Linked DNA regions of Homo sapiens: region 2 is linked to region 1. Evidence: promoter capture Hi-C in 16 types of primary human blood cells and fetal thymus (Javierre and others, 2016). All regions are on one chromosome and are shown on one strand. The core of a region is centred on a gene start or on the middle of the fragment in contact, and the rest is flanking DNA. Distances in the headings are between cores, read along the strand shown.

The links. Contacts are between HindIII fragments. The CHiCAGO score rates a contact against its expected background, and 5 or more counts as called.
Region 2: a contact is called between a fragment that was not itself captured here and the fragment with the promoter of ALKBH2 in region 1, in 2 of 17 cell types (M0 macrophages and M2 macrophages). The highest score is 7.1, in M0 macrophages.

The regions. Positions count from the first base shown.
Region 1 is chr12:109,091,690-109,094,901 of GRCh38, forward strand. ALKBH2 (alkB homolog 2, alpha-ketoglutarate dependent dioxygenase) reads right to left here and starts at 1,783. Exons shown (of 4, transcript NM_001145374.2): 1 at 1,558-1,783; 2 at 818-1,248. The coding sequence starts at 1,097. The HindIII fragment of the contact is 3,285 bases long and covers 443-3,212 here.
Region 2 is chr12:108,819,341-108,822,552 of GRCh38, forward strand. All of the region lies in intron 3 of SSH1 (slingshot protein phosphatase 1), which reads right to left. Among named protein-coding and RNA genes, the nearest start is that of MIR619, 16 kb to the right of the region's middle. RefSeq lists an enhancer at 2,647-2,696. The HindIII fragment of the contact is 5,107 bases long and covers 1-3,212 here.

The DNA of each region.
Region 1 (3,212 bases), core at 533-3,032:
ACTACGCACAGCTCATTTTTTGTTGTTGTTGTTGTATTTTAGTAGAGATAGGGTTTCACCATATTGGCCAAGCTGGTCTCGAACTCCTGACCTCAAGTGATTCGCCCGTCTCGGGCTCCCAAAGTGCTGGGATTACAGGCGCGAGCCACCACGCCTAGCTTCCTGTGGGCTTTTCTATGCCTCTCTGCCAGATCCTTGTGTCCTCATTACAGGATAGAGGTGTGGTTCTCAACATGTGCTCCCCAGACCAGCAGCACCTGGACTCTCCTTAGAAACTAAACTAAACCACAGGGGTAGGGTCCAGCAATCCAAGTCCTGCCAACAGCAAGTCCACCAGGTGATGCTGAGAACCACTGGTGTGGAGAAATTACCTGGTTATTTGCCATCTCTCCTATGAGACCAGTGATTCTCAAACCCTGACTGCCCATGAGAATCACCTGGAAGCTTTTTAAACAAACAAGTGGTCAGCCTGCACTCGGAGCGATTCTGATTGAAGTGCTCTGCAGTAGAACCCAGCACGTTTTTTTACTTTGTTTTGTAAACTTTCCCAGAAGATACTCATCAGTAGCCAAGGAGAGATTCACTCGAGTCATCTGTCAGCTCCTAGTAGACAGGCAATCCAGTTTCTTTCAAGTTTATGTCCCAAGCACCTAAGGGGCTTAGCCCAGAGGTGCTCAGAGAATATTGGATGAATCCATTAGTGAACCCATCAGTAAATAATGGATCCTGAGTTCAGATTTCTCCAAACATACGATCATTAATTGCACCAAACAAGCCCTCAATGCACACACACACACACACACACCCCTCTGCTTACCTGTAAAATATTCTACTTCTTTCTCCAACTCTTGGAAAATCTCATCTGCCTCAGCTTTGCCAAACAGGACTGTGTAACTGCAGTCCAGGCCCTCAGCCCGAATGTGCCGCCAGCTAGGGCCTGCTGAGTGGCCTCCATTCCCTGGGGCCTCTCTCCTGGGCCTCTTCCTTGTGCTTTCTTTGTCTCCTCCCAACACAGCTGGCTCTTCTCCAGTTGGCTCTTGCTCCTCCTGCTTCCTCAAAAGGCCCCCTTGAGCCCCTTTCACCAGGAATCTGTCCATCCTGTCCCCACAGGAAAGAAGGGACGTCAGTGGCGAGGCCAAGACAGAAATTGCTCAAGTTCTATCCCCAGTGCAAAAATCTGTTTGTCCAAGGGGTCTCACAGCAACATTCCTAGTTTCACATTTTCATTTTAAAGTTTAAAACCATGTCCTAGAAAGGAAACAGAAGATGTTAAAGCCGGAAGGGACCCTAGGGACAATCTGATCCAGGGTCTCCCACGTCCACCTGTGCATCAGAATCAGCTGGCTAGCTTGCAAAAACCCAGAGGTCTGCACTCCACGCCTGAGCACCTGAATTTTTAAAGAACTACCTCCTGGGAATTCGCACGCCACAGCTAAACTTAGAAACTACAATCCAAACCCTCATTTTGCAGAAGGGGAAACTGTTGCCCACAGAGGCGAAGAGGTTTGCCCAAAGTCAACTGTCCACCCCTTTAAGGAGGAAGGACCCATAACTGACCTCGCTGCCCCCCACCAGTGTTAAAATAGATCAGTCTAGTGATGCTCAAGTGGATACGATTCAGAAGCGAGACGCAAAGAGGTTAAACACGGGTAAACCGCACGCAAAATTCTGATATCACTGCAACACGTCCGTGGGGTGGGGGTGGCAAGAGTGCTCTAGCATCGCAGCTCCGGCGCAGATCGGAATCCCGCAGTCACCCTGGTGGCCTCGTGGTGGGAAAGACGCGCCCCAGCGAATCGGTCGCGTCACTTCCGGAGCACGCTGGGAACTACGGCAGGCTAGGGCGCAAAGAGAGCAGCCGGGCGGCCCCCTGGTGCCACCTGCTGGCCTCCCGTGTGTGGCAAGCACTGCCGCTTTCCCGTTGATCACCTGTTGGGCCACTGTCGAGAATCACGGCTGGGGTGAGAACTGTGGCTTGGCGTCACTTCTCAGTGAGGGTTACTTTGGTGTCCGGAAAGGGCGTTGGGCCACCAGTATATTGTCACGAGTGGGAGCAGGAGTTCTGCAGTCGGATATCGTGGATTCTGTTTCTGTCTCCTCCGCCCTGGCTGTGTGGCCTCCCACAGGTCACTTAACCTCTCTGGGGTTAAGTTGCCTCATCTGTGAAGTGCGGACTACAGCACCTATGTCATGAGAGCGCCTGAGGAGATGACAGGATGCATGAGAAATGCTCTGTCCTCTAAATAAATGTTGGTTCCATTATTGCTCGTTTTTCTTTGTTTTCTTGTTTTTTGATGTTGTTCTTGTTTGTTTTGTTTTTTTGAGACAGGATCTCACTCTGTTGCCCAAGCTGGAATGCAATGGCATGATCATAGCTCACTGCAGCCTTGAACTCCTGGGTTAGAGCGATCCTCCCGTCTCAGCCTCTGGAGTAGCTGGGACTACAGGCACATCCCACCCCACCCTAAATAATTTTTTTATTATTTTTAGTAGAGATAGGGCCTTGCTATGTTGCCCAGGCTGGTCTCAAGCTCCTGGGCTCAAGTGATCCTCCCACCTGGGCCTCCCAAATTGTTGGGATTACAGGCGTGAGCCACCACGACCGGCTCCTAATTTTTATTTACTCTGTCTCCCCTCAATGGAACGAAAGCTCCATGAGATCAGAGGCTTTGTTTTGACAGATTTCAACAAATGTACAATATTGTATGATCACCACCACAATCAAGATCTAAGACAGTTCCGTCCCTCCATAAAACTGCTCCAGCCTCTTAATCAACTTCGCCCATCACCCAGCATCAGCAACCACTGATCTGTCTTCTCTCCCTATAGTTTTGCCTTTTCCAGAATTTCATATACAGGGAATTGCCGTGGTTTGAATATCTGTTCCTCCAAAATCCGCGTTGAAATTTAATCCTCAGTGTGGCAGTATTGAGAGGTGGGGCCTTGAAGAGGTGATTGGGACATGAGAGCTCTGTCATAATGTCCTCATAAATGAATTAATAGATTAATGGGCTCAGGGGTTAATGGGTTAATGGGTTACCGTGGGAGTGGGACTGGTGGCTTTATAAAAGGAAGAAGAGAGACCTGAGCTAGCACACTCAGGCCCCTCGCGATGTGATGCCCTACACGGCTTCAGGACTCAACAGAGTCCCCACCAGCAAGAGGGTTTTCACCAGATGCAGCCCCTCAACCTCGGACCTCTCAGCCTCTAT
Region 2 (3,212 bases), core at 296-2,795, 270 kb before region 1:
TACTGGCCATGAGTCTCGCGCGAAGCAGAGACCCTGTCAGAAGAAGCGCACACTTTCACGGAGGGGAAAGTTGTAAGGGAGGTGCATAATTAGTAAGTAGCAGGTGTGACTCCAAGGTTGCTTTTTTTCTCTAGCTTACACATTTTTCTTTATATCTGCAAGGATTTCTTTCTGAAGAAAGGGTCATCTGTAGAGATGCTAATATCAGCCTGGTGTGGTGGCTCACACCTGTAATCCCAGTGCTTTGGGAGGCCGAGGCAGGAGACTCACTTGAGGCCAGGCATTCAAGACCAGTCTGGGCAACATGGCAAGACCCCATCTCTACAGAAAAGTAAAAAATTAGCTGGGCTTTCTGGTTCACATCTGTAGTCCCAGCTACTTGGGAGGCCAAGGCAGGAGGATCGCTGGAGCCCAGGAGTTTGAGATCACCCTGGGCAACACGATAAGACCCTGTCTCTACAAAGGAAAAAAAATTACTCTATACATCACAATTACAACCCCAAAAGGATCAATAATGCTTACACACTCAAATGCTCCAAAAGGAAACATTGTGTTTGTTCCTTTTGCAAAAGCATCTTTTTCATTTTAAGGGAGAAGGACAGATGATGTCCAAATTGCACTTCCTGTCTCAGAGAGGAATTGGGTCATTAGAAATTTGTGCCTCTAGCCAGGAGGGTAGATCTCATGTTAAGCGTTCTTTCTTTTTCTTTTTTTTTCAATAGAGACAGGGTTTTGCCATGTTGCCCAGGCTGGTCTCGAACTCCTGGACTCAAATGATCCTCTCACCTCAGCCTCCCAAAGTGCTGGGATTATAGGCATGAGCCACCAAACCCAGGCCAATTAAGCATTCTTTCCACAATAAGTAAAATTTAAAAAAGAAAAGAACCATGCCCCTCTTATCTGTCCTCTCCAGTTATACAATTCCACAGTGTATAACACCCTGTGTTGACCCTGCTTCCTATGATGAGCGATTTGGAGATAAGGGTTCACATTAAAGAAAGCCATAGACCTCCCCAGCCCCTTCCTCCACCCGTCATGTCACCAATGCAACACAACGACAACGACCATGAGCTGGTTCTTCACCTGCCTGGGCCCTCCCACCATCTACCCGAGTCACAGAACTGCATTGGGGAAAGCAAAAACAAACCCCTGTCTGATAAATGCCTAAATGAAAGGGACATTTTCCACACAGATAAACTTCTTTCAGTGGGATTGTTTGCTGAGATATGGAACTGCTGACAGACAGAAATCCAAACCCCAGTCTGACATCCACACACAAAAAAATCAGAGAATATAAGCCCTAGAAAGGGTCTCAAATTGACTGGACTGGCTGAAACAAACTGAACTACTTTTCCAAGGACAGAATTAACCCTCAATTGTACTCAGCTCTGCACAGTGGTTACTGGGGGGCCTCTGGTACATTCAGGAGACTTGATGGTAATTCTAGGGAAAAAAAGGAACTAACGTAAGTCTAGTCTGCGTCTGTCCCAAGGTCATTTACAGACCAACTGTGGACAGCTGGCGGCCCCTCTGCCTTCCGACCTCATCGTCCACTCCAGACCTCAGGGCACAAGAGTCAGCCAGCTGGTGGCTTGCATCCTACCCTTCTAGTCTTTGGATTAGAGGAAGGAGGTATCTGACACTTAGTGAGCAGAGCTTGAGCATTTGCTTTGTCATATGTGTTACAATTAAAACATGAACAACAGCTACATTTCTAAGAGGGCAGAATAATTAGCAAATTCAAGAACGAAGAATCTGGCTGAGTATGGCACCTCAAACCTATAATCCCAATGCTTTGAGAGGCTGAGGTGGGGAGATGGCTTGAGGCCAGGAGTTGGAGACCAGCCTGAGCAACATAGTGAGTGAGACCTCATCTACACACACACACACACACACACACACAACTAGCTGGGTGTGGTGACACGCATCTATGGTCCCAGCTACTCAGGAAGCTAAGGCTGGACAATCACTTGAGCCCAGGAGGTCGAGGCTGCAGTGAGCTATGATCAGGCCACTGCACGCCAGCCTGGGCAAGAGAATGAGATCCGTCTCTAAAAAAACTTTTCATATAATTAAAAAAAAAAAAAGAATGAAGGGTCTGTTTATAGCTGTATTGTACTAGAAGTCATCGTAATAACAATGATAGTTACCCATATATATATACAGCACCTACTACAGGTAGGTATGTTACACGCATAACTCTAAATTTCCATATTGTCTGAGGCACCAGTATTTGATGCCCATTGTAAAGACTAGGAAACTGAGGCTTAGAAGTCGACCTGTTACGGCTTAGTAAGTTGGAGAACTAGGATCAGAAGACAGGTCTGCCTGGCTTCAAAACAAATACTATTTCCACAAACCACACTGCCTCCTTGTACAGGACAGTTATTTTCTTTGCTTAAAACAGACCTAAATATCATCAACATCAGTATGTGAAAATACTGACTGAGCCTTGGTGTTTGCTATAAATTGCATGGTGTAGAATTCTAACCTGAGCACTCAGATCTAAAATGAAGCTGAATGACTTGAGGTTAAACAAACAAAATGTTCACAAGAAAACTGGCCACAATAGCTGGTTGGTTTCACCTGCTGCTGTTCTGAAAGGTAAAGGCCTTCTCAGCTCACAGACATTCAATTATGCACTGCCTCTCCAAGAAATGCCCTGAGATGCTGTCCACCTACGACAAAGATCCACTTACATGCAAGCACTTTTTCCTCTTTCTTTCTTTTTGAGATAGGGTCCTTTTCTTTTGTCACCCAGGCTGGAGTGCAGTGGCGCAATCGTGGCTCACTGAGCAACACAGTGAGCAACATAGTGAGACCTCATTTACATACACACCCACAAAAAACTAGCTGGCTGTGGTGACACATCAGCCTCGACCTCCTGGGCTCAAGCAATCCTCCCACCTCAGCCCCCAACCTTGCTGGGATTACAGGCATGCGCCACCACGCCCAGCTAATTTTTGTATTTTTTGCAGAGATAGGGTTTCACTGTGTTGTTCGGGTTAGTCTGGAACTCCTGGGTTCAAGCGAGATCTGCCCACCTTGGCCTCCCAAATCCTGGAATTACAGGCAAGAGCCACCGTGCCTGGCCATAAGTGTGTTTTGTTGTTATTGTTTTTAAGAAACAGAGTCTCTCTCTGTCACCCAGGCTGGAGTGCAGTGGCGTGATCCTAGCTTGCTGCAGCCTCAAACTCCTGGGCTCAAGCGAT